2 separate regions of the Homo sapiens genome follow, and region 1 is linked to region 2. Evidence: promoter capture Hi-C in human tissues and cell types (Jung and others, 2019). All regions are on one chromosome and are shown on one strand. The core of a region is centred on a gene start or on the middle of the fragment in contact, and the rest is flanking DNA. Distances in the headings are between cores, read along the strand shown.

What was found. Contacts are between HindIII fragments. The study calls those that stand out against the background at their distance.
Region 1: a contact is called between a fragment that was not itself captured here and the fragment with the promoter of ACTBL2 in region 2, in 1 of the 25 tissues and cell types used here (dorsolateral prefrontal cortex).

Annotation. Positions count from the first base shown.
Region 1 is chr5:57,737,022-57,742,889 of GRCh38, reverse strand. No RefSeq gene overlaps it. Among named protein-coding and RNA genes, the nearest start is that of LINC02225, 160 kb to the left of the region's middle. The HindIII fragment of the contact is 3,739 bases long and covers 616-4,354 here.
Region 2 is chr5:57,479,085-57,485,574 of GRCh38, reverse strand. ACTBL2 (actin beta like 2) reads left to right here and starts at 2,764. Exons shown (of 1, transcript NM_001017992.4): 1 at 2,764-5,557. The coding sequence starts at 2,868. The coding sequence ends at 3,998. The region is part of intron 1 of RMEL3 (enriched in melanoma 3); the gene reads right to left. The HindIII fragment of the contact is 3,416 bases long and covers 1,258-4,673 here.

The DNA of each region.
Region 1 (5,868 bases), core at 1,236-3,735, 260 kb before region 2:
GGCAAAAGCCTTATAGTAATAGCACACATTTCCTTTGCCTTCTCCTCTATGCAGGTACTTTAGGAACTTCACTAAGAAGGGGAGAAATTTTGACAGAATAAGATTAAACTGTTTGAAGCTTAGGTCCTGTTTCTTTTTTAATCTGAAGAGCAGAGAAATTATAAGATAGTCACAAAGTCTGAAAACATAAACAAATGTAGCTAACAAGTAGTTTATTGCTATTACATTATTTTAGATGACATGATCAATAACATGTTTTCAGACTTTATAGCCACACCCTGTCCTTATAATAAGGCCTTCTGATGTTCTCACTTATAAGTGGGAGCTAAACACTGCATACTTGTGGATATAACGATGGCAATAATAACCACTAGGAACTATTAGAGGGGGGAAGGAGGGAGGGGTAATAGGGTTGAAATCTAACCATTGCGCACTATGCTCACAACCTGGGTGATGGTATCAATCAAACCCAAAACCTCAGCATCACACAATATACCCATGTAACAAATGTGCACACGTACCCTCTGAATTTAAATTAAAAGTGGAAATTATAATTTTTTAAAATGCCTTCTGCATAATCGGCTTCTTTAAGACCCATTAGGTCAGAGGCATCAAATGCATAGGTTACTATTTGCTATGGTCCAAATGTTTGTGTGTATCCTAAACTCATATGTTTAAATATTAACCCCCAATGTGATAATTTTAAGTGACAGGACCTTTGTAAGGTGACTGGTTCATGACAGCAGAGTCCTCATGAATGGAATTAGTGCCCTTAAAAAAGAAGCCTGAAGGAGGTAGCCCCTTCTGTCATAGGAGGAGACAAAAAGAAGATGCCGCCTGTGAACAAGAATCTAACCGAATCTGTTAGCACCTTGATCTTGGACTTTCCTGCCTCCAGAACTGTAAGAAATAAATTTCCATTGTTTATAAGACACTCAACTTATGGTATTTTGTTATAACAGCCAAAACAGAGTAAGACATTGCAGCTTGAGCCAACTAAGACACTATTTAACACCCCTTTGACAAACGTTTCACTTGTCCAATCTTTGCTTCACATCCCTGCACATGTTCTAAACAATGACATTAAATAAAAATGCTACTGAGGTACAAGCTTTAAATTCTGAAATAACATTGAACATAGTAAATGATTTTATTGCTATTAGGTTATCTTGAAACCCTAAAATGTAACAACTACAAGATTTTGCTGGAGATAGGATTGCCAAATAAAACATAGGACACTTGGGTAATTTTGAATTTCAGATAAGCAAATACTTTTTTAGTGTAAGTATGTGCCAGGTAATACATTTTTAAATAATACCATTGGTCACTGTAGTAAGGGCAAGAAAATATGGTGAATCATATCCTGGCTTTTAAAGGCATCCACTCAGAAATGACACCCATCAATTACACTGACATTTCATTGCCAAAACAAGTCAAATGGCCATGGCCAACCTCAAAAAAGTAGATAATTGTGATCCTAACTGGAAGGAAAGAAACTGGAATATATAGGTAGAGAGCCCTAATGGCAACCACACACACACAACATTTTAATTCACATTTTATAAGAATAATTACAAATTAAAAGATGAGCATCAATCAAACACATTAGAATGGTTGCTTATGGGAGTAAGGAGGAAGGAAATGAAAGTGGAAATTAGGCTAAAAGTGAAGGAATAAACAAACAAGAAATAAGAGAAGGCATTATTACTGTCAGTGTACAGGTAGGTATACTGGGAATCAAGTTTTTAATGTGTCATCATGACCCCAACCAATACTTAAACAAGAGCTCAAACTTAAGTATTCTGACTCCACATCCCATTCTCTGTCCCCTAAATTTCCAGGTCTCAGGGTTACACGCTATGATGGATAAATATAATTGTTTTACATTGATAATAGCTTCCTATCCACATGATAATTTGAATAGGATGTGTCGAGACCCCACATACCTAAGATAAAGCTTATCTTATTTCTTTTTGATAAGCAGCATTAATAACATTGTGGAAAAAGCAAGAAGTTAGGAGTCAAATGAACCTGCATTCAAATCCCAGCCTTGTCAAGTAACAGTCTTATGACTTTTGACATGCGATGTTAATCCCTGTAAGTATCAATGTCCTCCTTTGCAAACCTTCGTAAATCCAGGATAATAATGCCTAACTTAAAGGCGCCACATAAAGATTAAATAAGAAAAGGACACATCACAGAGCCTGGCATTTAAATATTTTAAACTTTAACTATGGCTTTTTATTGCCCCAAAGTTTATAATTTACACTGAGCTGATAATCTGTGTTCTTCTGCTTTAGCCTATTTGTGATTCATTTGGTATTTCCTCTATGTCTGTCACACTATTACTAGTAAAAGCTTACTTTAGCTAGTTACTTCGTTACTTAGGATGTTCACTGCAAATGTAATGAGCAAAAGTGAAAATCAGTCACTGGGGCCTTCAGCTTGATATTTAAGCTTCATAGCACCACTGTAAAGACTGTAGTAAGTAAAACACCCTGTGATGTTTCTTAAAGTTGAGGCAAAAGCCAAATGATAGGTGAATAATTTCTTAAGCTACTAAGCTTTCATTTAATTTGTCCATAGGAATCCCACCCAATTCATTCATCCAGCATAATGAATAAAGGTTTCTTCTTCCTGTTTGCATGAATGTGACCCAGTGACCATCAATATATTTTAAAGGATCAAAGAAAGCTTTAAAGAAAGAAACAGTCCTTAAAAATGATTATTTCCTGTTTTTCATTATCATTTTACTGCTTGTTTAAGCATCTCCAAATGACATATGATTACATTTTATATGATTTTGAAATTTGAGCTAATGTAAATGGTGTCATATTATGTATATTCTGTGACTTGTTTTATTTATTTGACAGTGTGTTTCTGAGAGTCAGTCATGTGCGTGTATGAAGTGACCATTTATTCTATTTTGCTACTCTATGGTTTTCCATTTATAAGTACACCAGGACTCATCTTCCATGCTCCACCTGCAGAGTACTGAGTGCCCTTGAGTAGGAGGAAGGCCACGCAATGAAGCAGAGGCCCAGAGGGAGGGAGATGGGCTATGCAGGACACATTTGCCGTGTCTAAGCTGACGTGATGATCATTTTGTTATTACTTATACTGTGTCTAGTCTTCTGTATTTATAAAACACAGAAGAAATATTTTATAATTTCAAAATCAGGGGAAGGATAGAATGTTGCTCTTTGTTATGTGACCCAAAATACATGGCCCTTTCATCAAGGAAAAAGCTTCACTTTACATTGGCATTAATGACACTGGAATTTGGGTTTGTTTTCTTTATTTTTTTCCTTTTAAAAAGTGACCCAAGGTACAGGGAATTAGTTCCTTTTGACTTCTTATGTCATCCCAACCAAATGTGAGACTTAACGTGTGAAAGTCACCTGAAGCACGTGGCATCTAAAAACTATTGGTTTTTTAAAATATATGTTTTAATAGACAAATAATTGTATATATTCATGGGGTATAGTGAGATGTTTTGATATATGTACATGTTATTCATCAATGAGTATCATTGATATAAAAGTAGGTGCCCAATAAAGACTGGAATATAGTAGACATACAAAACATTGGTAAAGCACTCTCACAGACAAAAAGCTGCATATCAAAATGGGAAGCCATGTATCAGAATAACAGGAGAGAAATGGTTGATATAGGCAGACACATAGGGGAAAATATTTATTCATTCAATCAATCATTAAATATAAATCAAGCATGTACTATGTGCCAAAACCTGAGCTAGATGCTGAGGTCACAAAGGTAAATTTGACCCAGGCTCTGCCCTCAATCAGTTTACAATCTAATGCTTACGCTACTACAGTATTTTGCAAATATTTCCACTACAGAAGTCATTGCATCATATTGAATAGGCTGTTTGTCTGGAAACAGTTGCATCTTCAGGGTAGGGCATGCATCTTACTGCTCAATGTCTAGGGTGACTGGTGCAGATAAGGTCTCAGTAAATGTGTATTGAGTGAATCACAAATGAATACTGGATTGCCCCAGAAATCTATAACTTATGGTTGCCTTCTATAGTTTTTCTTTCTTGTAAGATCCCTTAATTTTAGATTTTGCCTTCAGAACCTAAAAATCTTCAAGGCAAAGTTCTCACCCTCAAATCTCATATCCCCAATGCACTACTCTGGCCCTACACACACATGCGTGCACACACACACACATAACCACAGGGAAAAATTTTTTTAATTGCAATAATGACCATTTAGAGCCATTAATGAAAAACTGGAGTTTAACAATGGAATCTCAGAAAACATCCTGGGGAATTATTTGCTTCACTGTCTCACTCTAAAAGACAGCCTACTGGCCCAGCATTCTTGAACACAGAAACCTGAGAGCTCTAACAGAGACTCTGCGTCTTTACTCACTGCACAAATTGACTTGGATAGTGCAACAGACAGATGACCTTTGTACAGTTGAGAAGATCAAAAAATTAGCAAGAAGGGCAGCAGCCTAGAGAAAGCAAAGCAAGGAGAAGGATTTTGAGACCCAGGCTAGAATGTAGCACTGTTGAACAAAAGACAATAAAAAGGTTGGAAAATTGAGTGTGCCGCCTTGTCAAATAATATGACAAATGAGAAAGGAGAAAACAAAGCCTAGGATTCTAATGGTTTAGGATCTCATAGAATACAGAGAAGGTTGACTGATGGGAGTAGAACAGGGAAAAGTTTTTGGGGCAAGAGAGAAGCACCTCTGTATTTACAGATTTTCTCTTGGCTGTTTGTATCCTGATTTATTCACCTTCATCAGCCCTTCCCGTGGGGTCAGCATTGAGCTGTAGGACTGATAAATATGACCTGGATATAAAGATCAGCTGTTTACTATTACTCTTTAGAAGATTTGGTCATCTGAAAATTCCAAGCAATCTAAGAATTTCTGTAGTCAGCAGTCAAAGACCTTAATTAACTGCCCTAATTTCTAGTTTCCAATCCCTGTTGGTCAAAACCCCAGACCTCAGTCTCTGGCCTTCAGTAATAAATTTCTGATATATCAAGATTTTATTTAGATTAATCTTTTTCATTTTAAGTTGATGTCAGTGAATTTGGATATAAGTATTAAGGAACATAATTTAGCATAAATACCCCTGAACTATCAGTAAATGGTTCATCATGTCTCTGTTTATAGGAATGTTTCCAATCCAACTGCTTTATTGACTCTGGGAACAGAAACTGTTTCTTCTACTCTCTTATATATCTGTACATGTCTTTAAGTCTGGCTGAGAGAAGAGTTGGTGCCTAGTAAACATGTTCTGATTTATATTAAAAGAACAGATCCTACTTTTCTCATTAGGTCATCAGAGGATATGTTAAAGCATTGCTTACTCTAGGTATAAGAGGTACAAGAGGTAACTTTAAAACTTATCTTTCTCCTTGTTTAACCCAAGAAAGACTTATCAGACTGTAACTAGTGCAAGTCATGTAGAGAAGCTTTGCCCTGAGCTGGTACACTGCCTCTTAATGGTTTCCAAATAGCCACATCCACAGGACCCCCAAAATAGATCACTGAATCAAACTCGTAGGAGTTGTTATGTAGAATGAACGAATGCATGTTCAAGCAGAGGCTTGGTTTTCTCTCCTTTTCTACTTCTGAATGTGATCTGAATACAGTTCTTAAGTCTAACTTCCTCAGAAGCTTTTTCTATTAGTCAAATTATTTGTTTTTTCTTTATTTATCAAGTACATATTAACTGAACTCCTCAAACATGCCAGGCCCTGAGAAAAGATGTTACAGTTGCTTTCATCCTCAAAATGGAGTTAGAAAAAAAAATGACTTAGGCTATTTCAAAGCATCACGATTAGGATTATGTTAGAAGAAAGCAAAAAGCACCACGCATGC
Region 2 (6,490 bases), core at 1,515-4,014:
TAACAACTGGAACAGCGCTGGCAGAGCCCTATCAGAACATAAGCCGGCTGTATCATACCAGTGCCAAACGGCCACCTGTCGGCCTGGGGTAAGGTGACTTTCACCCACAAGACAGTGAACTCTTTAAAAATAGGGCTGTGTTTTATTCATTGATATATCACCAGTGCCCAGAACATAGGAGATGTTTAATAAATGTTTGCGGATTGCTTGAAAAGTCTAAGGTTGACAAAGACAAGGCAAGGAGACACGGTAGCTTCCACCAGTTGTCTTCATATTTAATGCCCATACTTAAACCTCACTCTAGTTTCGTGTATCTGCATGATAGTCAAACTAGGCAAAATGTAAAAGAAAAAGAATATTCTGGGCTTCCATGAGTGAACCTTGAAGGGCCCTAAAGGTTTAGGTAATTAATTAAACATTTGTAAATTCTGGTCAGTTACAAAGTCTGTTACCTCCAAGAACAGTACTCCCTACTCACAGCTTCCAGAGCCCAGTATTTGTAAACCCATCTTTCTATGTTTTACTCAACACAAATTCTTACTACTTTTTAAAAATTTAACCAACTCAACAGATGACATTTTTAATGGCTGTTGAATTGTGATAAGCACCTCTTGCATTATTGAGAGTTAATTAGAAGAGCATAAGCTTATTTTAAGAATACATAACTGATGAAATTTGCTCCTGGGACACCGGAATTAAAGCAGGCTAGACAGTCTCTAGCAAAATCACACATCAGCCACACTCTCAAGGCATCAGTTATGCTGTGTGGACTCAGTACCAAATATCCCTTAGTTGAAGGTGATTCTAAGGACAGCACTCTAGTAAGTGTAGGATCTAAGGCTGCACTTGGTACTATGTGGGCTCCTCCACTAACATTTCCACCAACTTGGCTTTGTTTTATATTCCAGACCGGAGCATTCATAAATGGGGACTTGTGCTAAATACAATGTGTATTTCATTTTTTCCATTTTGTAAAATGTGCATGTAGTTTGTTATGGGATTTTAAAAAATTCCCAGAAGCACCATCCTATAGCAATAAAATGTTGTTTTAATCAAAAGCTTGGTTGTACTACATAACAAGGAAGTTCATAAAACCATTCAGTGTGAAGGTTTTTAACACTGTTGAAGAAGGAATTTTGCAGTTACAGAAAAGATTAAAGGAAAGGACTGTTTTGGTGAGCCCTAAAGCAAAACCATGGATCTTGTGATGAAACATACATTCTGCCATGACTGATTGTCACCAGAAAGGTTTTGAAGGCATATTACAGCACTGGATAAAATAAATCTATATCAAGCTATAGACAAAGAAGAGGGCTGGATGCTCACAGCTTGATGCTACACCATGACTCTCCAAGAGGCTCACTGGGCAAAGACTCAGGTTAGTTCTCCTGGCCTTGAGCTGGAGGGTGTTTTTTGTCCAGTAAATAGGGGCTGTGCTACCTCTTACAAAGCAAGCTTTATTGGGTAAATGAATGAATGATGAACCCAAATAAAGATTATTTTGGAGAACTCAGATGTAGACATGGAAAATTTCTTTGCTTTACAAGAGCTCACAAAGATAATTATATTCTATTCGCCTAACACATAGGGGAGCAGAAGTAATGAGCTTTCTTAAATGCTATTTCTCTGTAACACATTGCTGATGTCCTACATTTTACCATCATACACATCTTTTCAGGTAGTCTGTATTTCTATATGAAACATGGAACCCAAACAAATTGTTGCTATGAAGTGATCAGGGTGTAATATATCTTGAAATGGAAGGAAAGCTAGTATAATTCTAATTGTATAGATTTTAATAACTACATAGAGGTTTAATGTTATAATATAGTATATGTATCTTGAAGATCAAAATGTTTTAAGGATTAGTTTAAATATATAATTTTTCAAATTTGTCTTATCACTTCATTTTGTCCATTGTTGCAGAACTCAAGAGTTGTTGCAAATAAATAAATTTTTATAACCTGCATCTTAATAAATCATGCAAAATAGTTGACATTCAGTCATTATACAATTAACATGGACCCAATGAACCTGGTTCTATGAACAATGTCTAGACACAGTAAATGTTTAATGAAATTTGGTTGTTAGAAATTTATATCAGAAAAAAGTATCTATATGGGTTAACTTTAGCAATCATTCTATTCCTTTCGCTTGATCTCTGATGGATTAGAAGTCTATTAAATATCTCTACATTTTGCTTGACACAAGTGCATTGTAATTACAGCCATCAGGCCATCCTTAGCCATTTATTATTTTCATTTACTAAAACAGTCTCTACGATGATGACACCCTGTGGGATTAGGAATCTAATGGAAACAAAAATCTTGAAAAAGTGAAGATTGCAGGGTAAGACCCCTCATCAGAACAGTATCTTAAGAATGAAAAGGTAAGCTAGTGTAGGAAAAGTGAATCCTCAGGGACGCTAAGGAGGGAGCCTTCCTCCCAGCAGTGTTGCCATACCTAGCACCAGCTTTCTTTCATCTTGCTTTTATATCCCCCACTGCATCATCATAGTTATCTAGAGACCTCACCAGGCAGGCTGACGGTCATGTGTGGGTTGCCTAATTACAGGAACCTGAGATTTGACCACTTGGCAGCCAATTTTCTCTTTATGTAGAAAGATCTAATTGTTTATGTAATCATCACCATCATTAATACCTCAGAGATGACCTCATCCAGAAATGCTGGGAACTGGTGGAGTAGGACATGGGCGGAGTCAGTGTGTTCCTTTAAATACCTGTGGTCCCGGTGCAGCCTCCCGTGTCTGAAAGCATTTCTGGAGTGTTTTAGGCCTGTTCACTTTCTCTTACTCACTGTCTATTCACTTGTCCTGTTCACTCGTCTGGAAGATCTCAGCCAGCACCATGACTGACAATGAGCTGTCTGCCTTGGTAGTGGATAATGGGTCAGGGATGTGCAAGGCAGGCTTTGGTGGTGACGATGCCCCCCGGGCTGTGTTCCCCTCCATGATAGGGCGTCCTCGACACCAGGGCGTTATGGTAGGCATGGGCCAGAAGGACTGCTACGTGGGAGATGAGGCTCAGAGCAAGAGAGGCGTCCTGACCCTGAAGTATCCTATCGAGCATGGAGTGGTCACCAACTGGGACGATATGGAAAAGATCTGGTACCACACATTCTACAATGAGCTCCGTGTGGCACCAGATGAGCATCCCATCCTCCTCACCGAGGCACCCCTGAACCCCAAGATCAACCGGGAAAAGATGACTCAGATCATGTTCGAGGCTTTCAACACACCAGCCATGTATGTCGCCATCCAGGCTGTGCTGTCCCTCTATGCCTCAGGACGGACCACAGGCATCGTGATGGATTCTGGGGATGGGGTCACTCACATCGTGCCCATCTATGAAGGTTATGCCCTGCCTCATGCCATTCTACGCCTGGATCTGGCAGGGAGAGACCTGACTGATTACCTCATGAAGATCCTGACAGAGCGAGGCTATAACTTCACCACCACTGCTGAGCGGGAGATTGTGCGAGATGTCAAAGAGAAGCTGTGCTACGTAGCCCTGGACTTTGAGCAGGAGATGGTCAGGGCAGCCGCATCCTCCTCACCGGAACGGAGCTATGAACTTCCTGATGGGCAGGTGATCACCATTGGGAATGAACGCTTCCGATGCCCTGAAGCCATTTTCCAGCCTTCCTTTCTGGGCATTGAGTCCAGTGGGATCCATGAGACAACCTTCAACTCTATCATGAAGTGCGATGTGGATATTCGCAAGGATCTCTATGCCAACACCGTGTTATCTGGAGGGAGCACCATGTACCCAGGCATTGCTGACAGGATGCAGAAAGAAATCATAACCCTGGCACCCAGCACCATGAAAATCAAGATCATAGCTCCCCCAGAGCGGAAGTATTCTGTTTGGATTGGGGGCTCCATCCTTGCCAGCCTGTCCACATTCCAGCAGATGTGGATCAGTAAGCAGGAATATGATGAGGCTGGTCCTCCTATCGTTCACAGAAAATGTTTCTGAATGGGCTTCCATATTAGTGGGCTTACATTTTCCCTTTTCCTAGGTCACAGTGATGGTACTGCTTTTATCCGCTTTCAGTAGAATCGAGGTAAATACGTCACTCTTCCTAGTGTAAACCAGCAAACCCATCTCTCCATCCAAGTAACCTGGGCTCTTACCCAGATAACCACATCCGGTTCTCCATCAAGTGAAGGTGAATTCTAATACCATATTCCTTTTTCTTTGCCTATACTGTTCAAAGATAGGTAGGCCAGCTTAAATACATATAAGTGACAAGGAGTAAAATCACGAGAAATGTCATTTCAGAATGGATAACTATAATTATCAAGCTTTAAAACTTAGTTCTCGCTAAAATATTTAACAAGAACAGGCTGTATAAACTTGTTTAAAAAAAAAAGGTGCGTATGCATTTAGCAGCCGTGTCTTACTAGTTAAGTATCTTTGTTTTGTTTACTTCTTTGTATGGAGATAATGAATTATAAAGTTCAATAATATCCATATATACATAAGCACCAGGGAAATAAAATATATTGTGAAATATGCTGATGTATCTAGCTATCTGAACAGCTAATGTGAATTTCTTTACTCCCAAAAGTCATCGTTGTACTAGGTACATATTTTAATTGTTTCCCTTACTAAATAAGCATAATGAGACAGCCACCATTCCATTAATGTTTATAAATCATCTAAATTTTCAGCTCATAGTGGAGTTCTGCTGGTCAAATTATATTTTAATATCTTTCTTACTGAACCTTCTCATACCAAAACTACAGACAATGTCTAATTCTTAAGAGAGATAGATATTATAATATCAAATTAATGTCATTATGGTACAATTTGACAGAGGTAATTTTATTTCTATTTCTTAGTGTAATAGCACATCTTAAATAATTTCTGTAGACCAGGATTACAGATACTTCTCTTGTGCAAGGATTTCACTGTGGGAAAATATAGCTGCAGCATCTTTATTAATTATACATTTTACTACCAGTATACTAACACAGTTTTATCCTTGGAAAGCTTTTAGAATAATTCTACTTTATTATGTCCAGTAACTAGCAATACTTATTTATGCAAAGTGTCTCTGAGATACTAACATCTTTGAAAATATCAATGTATGTTCCTATAATGTCTAAAATATTTTAGTTACTCCAGTGATGATTTATTAACCAATTTTAAGTACCAGTATGTTTATTCCAATCTATGCAGTGATTTCTGAATATTTGGATATCAGCATTATTTGTATTTTTCAGGGTAATTTCTGAAAATTTAAAATATTTATTTGGATTGCTTATTCAGGCATTATAAGGTACTCTGGAGGAAGGAATCACTTCTCTTTTTTTCTTAGTTGGGAAACTTGTACTTATGTTATAAATCTTTAAAATGGAATCAGTAAGAATTTTTTGTTTAAGGTAATACTTTTCAAATAATTTGATTATTCCTTATTGGCTTTATCTGACAACATAATCTTTAAAATGCATGTAACCAAAATTAATCTCCAAAAACACTTTATTTTATATAACTTGCTTTCAGTACATTAAAATTGCTTCATACTTGTATACTTAGATTTCCTGTTATTTCTCCTCAACCATTCCCTTAGAATTAGAGAATGATCCAGATAGCATCTCTTTTTATATGTGTGACCTATTCATCTGTATGTTACAATTTTGCACCTCATACATTTAATCATGTAAACATTAAAAGGCAAATTTTAAAAAAAGGATAGCTAGCCATTTAACATTATATAGATGTCTCATAATCTAAATTTTAAAGCTGGGTTTTACTGGATGAACTGATCTTCAGGTAATTAATAGGCAGAGACAACATCAACAATAATAATCATAATATTTTGGATTTATATGCTGCAATGCATTCCATTTGCAGAGTGAGTAGTTCTCACAAACATTCTGACCTGCATTCTGAATTACCAAAAAAAAAAAAATATGACTTCCCACCCACAGACTATAAATGGGACAGGTAATGTGAACTTACAAGAGAGTGAGCTATAGAGCCCCACAACATTAGGTGAAAATATGAGCCCCATAATGCAAACTACGCATTATAAATCTTGAATTACTGTGGTAATTTAAGAGTTTATTATATATAAAATCTACAATTTCTAGATAACAAGTTGGTAAAATGCCAGAAACTTAAACCTAGAGTTGTGGGATATTCTTCTCTTTATCAACATTGACTGACTTATGGATGAGTTTAATGAAGAAACAGCCTGTTTCACAACTTTATATTTTAGAATCAAAGAATGACATCTACATAGGTAATACGATTAACATGCTATTCATGTATCATTAGCCTGGCTCATCAACCAAGTTATTTAGAGAACTTTATATAAATATAGGGTCCCTGGCCCTGGGCTCAGAGCAGTGGGTCTAGAATGAGCACTAAAAATCTGAATGCACAGCCAACTAGAGGAATTACAGCTCCACAGAATTCAAAATCCCAGCACATTACAGGCTCCATGGACAGGAAAGGTC